Linked DNA regions of Homo sapiens: region 1 is linked to region 2. Evidence: promoter capture Hi-C in 16 types of primary human blood cells and fetal thymus (Javierre and others, 2016). All regions are on one chromosome and are shown on one strand. Each heading gives the region's core, a stretch centred on a gene start or on the middle of the fragment in contact. The rest is flanking DNA. Distances are from core to core; before and after follow the strand shown. Region 1 holds the start of TTC29 (tetratricopeptide repeat domain 29). Region 2 holds the start of SLC10A7 (solute carrier family 10 member 7).

What was found. Contacts are between HindIII fragments. The CHiCAGO score rates a contact against its expected background, and 5 or more counts as called.
Region 1: a contact is called between a fragment that was not itself captured here and the fragment with the promoter of SLC10A7 in region 2, in 1 of 17 cell types (fetal thymus). The highest score is 5.3, in fetal thymus.

The regions. Positions count from the first base shown.
Region 1 is chr4:146,940,923-146,946,587 of GRCh38, forward strand. TTC29 (tetratricopeptide repeat domain 29) reads right to left here and starts at 4,942. Exons shown (of 13, transcript NM_031956.4): 1 at 4,787-4,942; 2 at 4,109-4,155. It overlaps TTC29-AS1 (TTC29 antisense RNA 1), which reads left to right. Exons shown (of 7, transcript NR_188447.1): 2 at 1,924-2,069; 3 at 4,509-4,632. RefSeq lists a silencer at 4,935-5,074. The HindIII fragment of the contact is 2,093 bases long and covers 2,567-4,659 here.
Region 2 is chr4:146,518,164-146,523,979 of GRCh38, forward strand. It overlaps SLC10A7 (solute carrier family 10 member 7), which reads right to left and starts at 3,777. Exons shown (of 12, transcript NM_001029998.6): 1 at 3,455-3,777. The coding sequence starts at 3,554. RefSeq lists enhancers at 2,905-3,134, 3,575-3,644, 3,865-3,944, 3,955-4,374, 4,545-4,624. The HindIII fragment of the contact is 7,940 bases long and covers 2,578-5,816 here.

The DNA.
Region 1 (5,665 bases), core at 2,363-4,862, 420 kb after region 2:
ATTGATAGGAGAGTGTCAAAGTTTCATTATAATAAAAGAATATGGCATGGGAGATATTATTGCAGCCCTTTTTGGAAAATGCAGTGTGCCAGAGTGGTGAGCAATTAGGAAGGCAAGTCTATAAAATCAAATTATCTAAATCCTATTCCAAAGAGGAAGAAGTGTGGACATGACATCTGTGAACTTAGAATAGAAAAATTGTTACATGGTGCAAGGGCTGTCAGATACAAAAGAACCCATGCTTCTGTTAAATAGAGAGGCATCCAAAAGGCCAGGGGCTCCTGATCCCACCCCGTCTATGTCCACCAGGTTTGACCTGTACTCTTAGCTTCACCAAGAAGCTGAAAGGCTTGTTTTAGGTTTTAAATGGCTTATCTTCAGCATTACTACCTGTGTGACCCAGGGAAAATCACAATAAAATCTGGGCCTTGAATATATTCAGCAGATATTTAATGAGCTCCTATTTGGTGCCAGGCACTGTTCTAGGTGCCAAAGATACAGCAGTGAAGAAAAAGACAAAACTCTCTGATTTCACAGACTTTGCAGTATGGGGGTAAATAGGGAGAAAGACACTAAACAAATAAGCAAAATATATAGAACCTCAGATGTTGATAAGATTCTCTGCTGGAAAACAAAGCAGAGCACTAGAAACTACCCAGATGCTCACCAATGGCAAAGGGATGAGTAAAAGCAGAAGGAGACAAGCTCAAAGACGTTATGGAGAATTTTGTTCGGTGTCCCAATAGTGTAATGTCTTGATGGTTACTCTAAAAACTGGCTTTTATTCTTATTGAGGTAAGAATCCATTGGAGGATACAGAGCATAGAATTGACACGATCTGACTTGCATCCTGAAAAAATCACTCTGAGTTTTTCTTTCAGGTTAGACTGTAGTGGGGGAAAGGGTAGACAGCAGAGAGGCCAGCCCAAAACCTCCTGTGAAATACAGGGGAGAGAGAGTGGTGGCTTAGGTAGGAGTAGAGAAGGAGAGATGTAGTCAAACCTGAAATAGAACCACCTGTGGATAGCTAAGACACAATATTCCTCTAGTGCTACAAAGCCATGGTGGAGGTAGGGGTGCAGAAGCACTAAGACGAGAGAAAATCTTCTGAAATTCAGTGTAGAAATAGACAGCTTTGTGTTACTGAAAAAGATTATTATCCTGGCCTAAAAATAATTTTTTACATAATTAAAGAGAATTCTAATGGAGATCAGTGGTTTATTTTAAATATAACAGAATCCTAGTACTACCAGTTTATCAAGGCATGATATGATCTATGAAACAAAATGCCCACTTATTTTATGCAGTTAAGGCATTAAGAGTGGAAGTTAATGAACATTAATTGGAAAGCAAAGGGTCTACCCTTTAAAGGGTCTATGCTTTAAAGTGCACAATCTAAACAGCAAATGTTAGTCCTCTCCTACAGACTAAACATTAGAAACATACTATATTACCCTTTATAACTTCATAACGTAATGACAATTTTTTTAATTTAAAAAATCTATTTTTCTGATTAGATGTTATATTAAACAGTTGAGTTACTGGAATAACAAGAACTTACTAAATGGCAGCATCATACAGAGCATATGGTAAGAAGTTATAACTCATGTGAGGTTTGAAGGGACACCAAAGCTCCCCAAACGGGCCTCCCAAGAGCTTACTTCAGAGGAGCTGTGAAGACTTTTCCACAGAGTTCCAGAGTCTTCCAATGTTACAGTGAACATCGGAATCATCTAAGTTCTTAACCCACACCAGTGTAGCCCTAGTAAATTTAAAAAGGGAGAGAAGAAAACAACTAAGTTTGCCTCATTTGGGGCATTCCATCCTCTATAAATTTTAGACTCTTTTCTAAAAGCCCCACTTTACTTGCCAAAGCATTATGCAGTGGGCACTGGGGCCAGGGTAATCTCTTCATAATTGCAGGGGTCTTTGAAGAGTTCACCCAGGAGCTTCAAAATGAGGAACAGTGCTTGCAATTTCCTTGAATACTAAGAACATCCAGCTATTTGTAGACAGATAAAAGAGAGCAGCCCCCAGAGGTGCTGATCCAGCCAAGATAGCTCATCCAGGTGCGTATAACTCCCCACCAAAGTTGGCATACCAGCATGTTATATAAAATTTATCCTTTTTGATGTTTACTTGAGTTCGATGATTTTTGTTAGAAAATGTAAGCATGGAATAGAAACCAAATGCAAATGACATACATGGAGAGGGATATGTCTTCTTTGTCATACAGATCAACTGTGCTTTTTTTTTTTTTTTTTTTTTTTTTTTTCAAAATTCTGAGTCAACGTTTCCTACCATTAAAGTTTCAGCTGCCAGTTCCTTCATTTTGCTCTCCTCTGATCTGAGAACATTAGCAGCAGGAGCACCTTTACTCTTAAATTTAGTTTAATGTAAGTACTGCAAGCCCTGCTGGCAAGCCTCAAGGCACAAACTCTGAATGGGGGGTGGTCAGAGCTGAATGATAAAGTGGAAAAAAAGTTATCAGAGCTGAATGATAAAGTGGAAAAAAAAAAGCATGTTGGAAAAAATATCCCTCAATCAATCTATGTTGGACAGTTTAAGCTTAGAGTCAGGATGGAAGTTGAACAGGCTTTCTCTTTGTTTCTGAACCCCACATCCTACCTTACCTATGCCCATCGGGAAAGTGAATTTTGTTTCTCAGAATCAATACGTGGCCACATAAGGTATTTTGTTTTACACAACAGATAATGTGTGATCTGAATTTTATGACAGAGTTAATATTTTGAATGCAGCAAATATTTAAAGGGGTCCTGTAACAAATTAGTTTCTTATCTAAGTAATTGCCATCTTTTATGCCTTACAAGTTCAAGCAGGGTTTGCAGTACTTCCATTAAATTAAATACCTGTAAAGAAAGCCTTTTGGTCTTTGTTAATATGAGTTGCATCATTTTCCTGGTGTTGGTCAGACAGCATTCTCAGTTCCCATGTGAGCTCCAATTTAGACTCAACAATGAAGAATGGGACTAGTGCTATGAGGTGACTGACCCAGGCCTGTAGCATAAATGGAGCATATCACCACTAGTTATGGCACCTCCTTAGGGTTCTCCCAGATCAACATCTCAGGGGAAAACACACAAGATGGTGTGGCTGCAGGAAGGGAAATTGCTCAGGTTCAGGTGAGTAAGAAAGAAGAAGAATGAAAGATACCTCTTTGGCTGCTACCAAATGAGCTTAGCCCCAGGAGCTCAGGCTGAATCAGCCTGTTAGGAGGACCCACAGGAACCTCCGCCAGTGCTAGCAAGTGGGCAGTGCTACAGTGTGGCATCATCGGGTGCTGAGACAAAGATCAAAAGGCCGCCTGAAGCCATTCCACTGTTGGTATTCAGAAGAAATTTGGTGTACTCTTTGATCTGCTGGTTGGCTCTTGTATCACAGCTACAATCTCTAAGTTTGGCCCCCACATGCAAAGACAAATGAAAATGGAGAAATACAGGATGAAAGGTTTGAGAGTGCTAGGTCAGGCTGAATGTGTCCCATGGTGTGAGCTTAAATTTTTGGCCCCCAAGTAAAATTCTTCAAAGAGTAACTCTCCTGCCCTCTATCCCCAGAGATGCCTTTATCAGGAAACACAAAGGAGGGAGACCTACTACTATGTAAATGGAGGCTACTTGGAGAATGACTATGTCTGAGGCTGACCAGTGTCTGCAGGGTTCAGTCACTTTGGAGTAAAAACTGAGATTAGAGAAATAAAGCCAGTAAACCACAGTAAGCAAGTTTATTATACATCATCACGAGTTCAAAACAAGTAGGATTTTACTAAAAATCATTCATAAGAATTAAAACTTTTCATATTATCCAAGCTCTTTTACTATGAAAGTTTAATGAAAACTACAGAAGAAATATCACTAATTATGCTCCCTAAGTAAAAAAAAAAACATAATTAAGTTTATAAAGAGTCAGTAATAATGTTTATTCTCGGTATCATAATTTTTGGACACTTCTGGCACTCTCTCATGGGTAGATAGGTTGTTTAGTAAAATAAATAGAAAACACACATTTCCTACCAGCTGACATTGATGGCTAAATCACAAAATCAAGCAGGAAATGAGTTTGAAGGCAAGCCATATTTCACGTGACTTACATTTGCAGATTACTGCTGATGGTCTCTCCAGGCTTATAGACTTCAGCCTGAAAATCAGGAAGCAAAGAATAATAGCAAAGAAGAAAAATTTAAAATCATTCAGTAGTGTAACTCCTCTCCCCGCTCCAAGTCATGGAATAAGATTCACTCTTACAACAAATACTTCCTACCATCTAAGTTTAGATGAACTTTTAAAGAAAATCCCCAAGTATAGATCCTATGAGAGAAACTAATCACTAAATCAGTGAAATGCCAAAACATCTGAAATATGTATATGTATTGATGTATTTCAATACAAATGTGACATTAGGGATAACCATTTGTTCTCTCAAATTTACGAGATACAGTTATCTTTGCCAAAAACGGAGAGCATCTCAGTTCCCTTTCTGTTCCCACCTAGTTCTCAACAGGACTAAAGGACTTATCCTATGCCTAGTTTTTCACTCCCCTCAGAGGGTCAGGTGAACTGGGGAGCAAGAGGAACTGGCGCCTTTCCCTACTTCTCTTTCAATTCGTTTATTGAGGTAAGTGGCGAGGGCCTGGACTGAGGAAGCTTGAGAAAGACTGATGGAGGAAGGGCTGGCTGTAGGGGTCAGGGAAGGGGCTGCCTGAAGAACAGCCTGCCTCTCCAAGGAGCTGAGGAAGTCCGGTCCCAACCTCGCCCCTGCCGTCACGAACCTCGGTGCACTGGCCCAGGGAAACAACTCCAGTTTTCCGTTCCGCCGAAGTCAGTCCCCCACCGGCGGCAGGTGCTGGGCGTTGGCGCTGCCCCCTCCTCTCTCAGTGATTCCGAAGCCTGGCTCCGCCGGAGCGGAGACAGGGGACGCCGAGAGCGTCTCCACGGAAACAGAGAGGCGAGGCATGACGGCCGGGGGTGGAGTTAGGCTAAACCGGGCCTCGGGATTGGGGCAGCTCCCAGACTCTTCGGGCTTGGGGGCGGAGTCTGGCGAGGGGTGGAGCTTACTGACGGCCGGGCGGGGCCCCCAGATAGCTGAGGCTTTTCAAGCAGGGCTGCTTTCAGAAGTTAGCTCGCTTTTAGGCATTTTCACGTAACCCAAGAGGCTCGAATTTGCCACTTTCATTTCTTTCGTGGCCTTGCATTCTCAATGCTTTTTCTTCATTTCTCTTTTGTCCACAGGATTGATGGGAAAACGCTGAGCTAGGCATTCATGATCCCCGTGACCTGAAGCCAATTTATCCATCTAGCTAAGTCATTCATTCTCCTCTTCCTCAGCCTCTCTTGCAGTCAGAACCCACCACAAATGCCTTTTCCTGTCATGTCCCCACAGACAATTCAATTTTGAATTGTGGTTCGCTAAATACTCAAGGTCTCTTTCAGAGAATCTCCCTGCATCTGTCCTTATTTGTTTTGCATTTTTACCTGAAACTCAGGGTTTTATATTTACACTAAATAAATATCATCGTATTAATCTCGGCCCATCATTCCATCTCTTCTCTCAGACATGAGTGCAAGGAAGTGAAATTCCTTGCTCATTCCCTCATATATATATGGGGCAAGAGAGTGAGGCTTGCCACTTGTTACTTCTAAAATACAGA
Region 2 (5,816 bases), core at 2,527-5,026:
TTGGCTTGAAGACCTAATGTGCTAACAAAAAACAACATTCTTTCAAAAAATGCAGTCCTGAGAAAATGACATTTTATACCTATATAGCAGTGGTTCTCCAGCAGTAGAAATCTTACCCTCCATGGACATTTGAAAATGTTTAGAAATGTTTTTTGGTTGTCATAACTTGGGGGATAGGATGTGCTACTAACATCTAGTGGGTAGAGATCAGGAATTCTATTAAACATCTTGGAAGGCATAGAACAGCCCCTCCAACAACAAAAATTATCATGTTCAAAATGTCAATGTGCCAAGGCTGAGAAATCTTGGTACATGGCAACATTTAAAAACCTAAGATCATCTCATATTTGGCATCCTATTCAGTCTTCTTGTACTAGATTAAATAGTGTCCCCCGACTCCCAAAATTCATGCCCACCCAGAACCTGTGAATGTCACATTTTTGGAAATAGGGTCTTTGCAGATGTAATCAAGTTAAGATGAGGTCTTATTGGATTAGGAGGGACATTAATCCAATAACCGGTATTCTTAAAAGATGGAAATTTGGACACAGACACATGCACAAGGAAGATAGCCATGTGATGACAGAGGTGGAGGCTGGAGTTATATTGCCACAAGCCAAGGAACGGCTGGCAACCACCACAAGCTAGAAGACTCAAAGGATTCTTTCCCAGATGTCCTTTGGAGGACATCTTGACCTCAGACTTCTGGCTTCTAGAACTGTGAGATAATAAATTTCTGTTGTACTGAGCCACCTGGTTCATGGTAATTTGTTGTGGCAGCCCTAAGAAACTAATACACTCACTTAAGCAAAACAACAGGACAACAATCACGGCTCCTCCATAGCCTGAAACCCTCCACTTGTTCGATATATGGACAGAAGACCAAGCTCAGGAAAAATCACCATATATATATATATATATATATATATATATATATATATATATATATAATATAATATATAATTAATATATATTATGTATATAACATAATATATAATATATGATACAATAATGTACATAATATATAATATACATAATATCTCAAGGCCCCTCTGAGAGAGAATATATATTATATATAATAATATATTTTATATAATATATAACATATTATATACAATATATAACATAATATATAATATGATAATATATAATACATTATTTAACATAATATATAATATTATCTATATATAGAGAGAGATGACCTACTATGTCTTAGGCATTTGTAGTACAACAATGAATAAAAGAAACAAAGATTTCCTCAAATGCTGTAATAAATTATTTAATATGCCTGGCATTTACACAAATCATTTTGCTGAGATCTAAGAAAAGGGAAAGAAAGGGAGAAGGCAAGTGCAAAAGGCATTGCATTTGGGGGCAGTGAAGGCTGCTCAAAAACTTTTATAAGAGGTACATTATCTTTATATTTGTTAGTGAATCTGTCTCAGCAGCTCACACAGGTAATATTTCTTCAGCAGCTAAGCAAGGTGATTCAGGAGCAGATTTTAAAGTCAAGGAATCTGGCTTGCTTGGGAAGTAGAAGTTTCCCAGGAATTTTAAATACCCTGGTCTCCAATAGTTCCTCTTCCCTAAGCTAGCTACCTTAACCTAGAGAGAGTCACCTGGTATCTTCAACTGTAAAAGAAGCATGTTGGCTTAAAACACTTTAAATATTCCCCTCCCCCTCTTAACATTCTATTATAATTAAACAAAGGAATGAATTATCCTACATTAAAGACAGAAGGACTAGTGGAAATGGGAAATGGCATTTCTATGATACAATAATGTACCAAAATATTAATAAGCAGAGTCTATGGAACACATAAGTTTGCAGAATCTATCTCATACATGCCACTGCAGAAAAGCCCCACGGAAATGATTCAGCATTCAACACCTTTCTTCCCACAGAATATTTAGGAATGCAAGGTAAAAGATATTTTGCCAAACTTAGCCCCTGCAGATTTAAAGTTAAAGATCATACATCCTCTGTAATTTCATCTCAAAACTGAGCAAATAAGAGATCTAACACGAGAAGCGATAGCTAGTGAAGTGTGCATTGCAGATCATGCAAAGGTACTCTAAGTCTTACTATTCATTTAGCTCCGGGGATAGGGGGTCTTCATTTGACAGACCTGATCTTCACAAGAGTTTCCCAAAAGTTCACAGAGCAGCAGTGTTAAAGAAGAAACTATTACCATCAATCAGAGGGAGAAACCACCAGGAATAACTGCTTTATTCTCACAGTTACATATTCTACACATTTTGTTCTAAGTTGAATACAGAAGAACAAAATTTTAAAACAAACAATCCTTCATCTCCACAATTTTGGTTTAAATAATTCCTTTTAAAATGTTCCCGGAAGCTACTTCTAAACAGAGTAATGGGGTGGAGGTTAAGGGGAGAAGGGACCACTGCTGTTCTCCTAAGAGATCATTTCATTCACTTCCATCATGTTTTAACAAAAAGATAAAAATAACTTCAAATATCCTCCTGAGCGCTTCCTACTATGAAATATTGTGCCTGTTCACCTCTATCCTTATTTGCTCCGGTTGCATGAGTTAGGTATTAAACCTGTCAATAAGCTTGGAAACTGACAAACAAGGTCAAAAAGACAAGCGAATTGAATAAATTCAATTAATGTTTATGAAAAGTAGTACAAGATTGTCTAAAGGTGTTGGGGGGGGCATAAAAAACTAATATTTCTAATGTTCCCACCAGTGCCCATCATCTCCTGTACAAAGCTCCCACTATTCAGAGATCTAAGTATGCTTTCAGTCCATCCACATTTCCTTGCCAAAACACACACTACACTACACTACACATAGTCTAACAGTCTGTATCTGTTAGACTGCTAGTATAGCAACTGAATCCCGGCAGCACACGGAAGTATGCTGTAATGAAGTGTCCTGTAATCAAAGAGTGCAACGTGTCAGTCGGCTTGGGAGTTTCTGGAGCACCAGCAACTACAGCAAATCATCACTCTCCAACATGTGGGCCATAAAATCTGAGTTGGGGGCGGAGGTGTCCCTTTTCTTGTTTTTCCTCCACTTTTTTTTTTAATGTGGGGGCGGGGAGGACTCGAAAGTAGACTCGATAATGAGGTCCACTCCAAGATAGATACGGAACTCTTAGCAACCTAGATTCCCTTGGGATAGGATGCTACTTTGAAGGCAAGAGGAGTAAGTTTCATTCTCTGTAACCTCACTTCTTGACACTCAGGATAGTCATTGTTTGTCTACGGAAAAGGCTACCTGCCCTCAAATTCCTTTGCCTCGTTCCTAATTACAAGTTCCCTCTGGGGTTGGTAAATTAGAAAATCAGCAAAAGGGCCAAAGGCTGGTCAGTGCCCCCTGAAATTGGCAAGCGCTTGCAATGAGGGTTGCCCCACCTTTCCAAGACTCACAAATTAGTTCTGAAGTGGGAGCCGCGGTGGAGCCGGCAGAGGTGCAGCACTTACCCCCATTCACCCCTATGGACGGCTCCAGTTTAGCTCCAGCGATCGCCAGCACTATTCCGACCATGAACCAGTCTTTCCTCATTCTCTCCAGCAGCCTCATATTTGTTAGGGTGGGTGGGTTTTGTTTATTTGTTTGGCTTTTTTTCTTTTCAAGCTCCGATCACCTAATCCTTGGAGCGTCTCCACACTTTCCTTGGTCCCTCCAGACATGCAGCAGAGCAAGTCAAATTGCCGATTGTAAAGTAAAGACCTGGGGGTTGCTCCGGCGGCTTTGAGGAGGGTTGGGAGTAGTAGTAGCCAGTGACAGGAAAGTCTCACTGAGCGCCGCCATCACTACCACGCGCCTCAGAATACACGCGCACAAACGCCCCCAGCGCCTCTGGCCGCGGGCTCGCAGGTGCAGATGCTTTGAAATGAAGAACTCGGACCAGGCCGACAACGTGGGCGATCCGGCAAGGGAGGCTGGCCGCCGGATGGGGCTGACAAGCGCACCGCTGTCGAGACCTGCGGAACCTTCTGAATGACGAGGGGTCGGGGAGAGCGTCGTAAGGCGCCACAGCCAGCAAGCCTCACTGACTGTCCTTTTCTAACAAACCTTTAGGCACAGCCACCCACCCTTCTGGAGCATATCTCCATGGAGAGCCTCTCTTTTGCTGTGCCATGACTCCGCGGGCAGGGCTGACGTGTGCTTGGGGCAAGGGATTTCTCCGTTGAAGCTGCGGCAGCGGGGTGCAAGTTTGGAGACGCGCTTCTTCGGGACATTACGGCGCTTCCACGACGCTAGCGCTGACGTATGCGCGGGGGGGAGGGGAGGCCACTCTGGATCTCCGAGTTCCCAGCCTGAGCTGCCGGAGTTAGAGGTGTCCGCGCGGGAAAGTGGCTCGCTGGTGGGCGGGGAGCCTTATCTCTGGCGGTGGGTTGAAAATCCGGCGCCGGGCAGATGCCCACGTTCGCTGGACCCCTGCTTGCCGGCGTCCGCTACAACCCAAGGAAGGTGGGCCCGACCTCGCCAGGTCGCTCGCCTGCGGGTGGGCATTTGGTCCGGATCCCCTTCCCTCTGCGGCCCACACCTGTCTCCGGGACTGGGGAGGGCTGCAGGGATCGGGGCAGATCTGCCTTTGCGGGCCGAGAGTGACAGCTGAAGTCTCCCCACCAACTAAGCTACTCGCGGGCGGAGTGGGGTCTGCGCTGGCAAGCCCCTGGGCGCGCGGGTGCCCGCTCTGGCTCGCCCCCAGGGCTGACCTACCCAAGCCACAGGAAAACTCTGGGAAGAGGGTCGCGGATTCCAACGCGGAAGTGGTGGGGGATTGAGTCTGAGAGGTTGGGGAGTCCTACCTTCCATTGCCACGAGTGCTAGTTCTATCTGCCAGTTTCTTCCTTGAAATGTCTTGTGGCAACCAGTGACATTGATGGTTTCATGAATGGACTTCCTACCGGTAGACCCTGCAAGAGCATGAACTCCACTGTATCATTCATCCAAATGAAGAAAGAAAGAAAATAGTATGTGATATTTTGAAATAACCTGGCATCTGCCACTTAAATGGTTAAAAATAGAACTTAAGGTTTGGAAGAGATTGTTTCGTGATGACAGACTTTAATTCTGAATTTATTCAAAGCTGGAAAGACACTCGTCGTGTCATTTCCTCTATTTAATTTAGCTTTATCTTGATGGCAAGACTTCCAGAAACTAAGCCACTTTAAGAGTTGTGCTCCCAGTTGTAGGTTACACAGTACCAAGTGTCATCTAATTATACATCAGGCAACATGAAAAAAAATTAATTTCAAGATAAAAAGAACTTAACAGGGAGACATAGATGACATTAAGCAGTTTACTCTGAAAAGAGACAGGTACATGAAATATAAAATTTGATGTTAGTTGTCAGGCAGTCAGAAGATAAGTGAAGATAAATGAAAGATAGTTTACAACATAATTATTTTCTTATAGTAATTTCTTAGTAGGTTAAAGAGTCATACGTCTCAGTCATTGAAGGGATAGTTTTGTATTAAAACATCATTAAACATTAAGTTTACAGAAATTGAGCTGTTTTAACTGTACAGCTATTCACAAATTATTTACTAATACCTCTTTGATCTGTGTAGAGCAGAATCTAACTCAGAGATTTTTTTGTTCTGTTTTTAATGGTACTTAAAGGAAAAGAATATAATGTACCATGAATTATATTCTCTTAAGGCCTGTATTTGTTTGCTGTGGATGCTGAAACAAATACTCGAACTTGGATGCCTTCAAACAACAGAAATTTATTATCTCACAGTTCTGGAGGACAGAAGTCCAAAATCAAGATTTTGGCAGAGCCATACTCCCGCTGAAGGCTCTAGGGGAGAGTCCTTCCTTGCCTTTTCT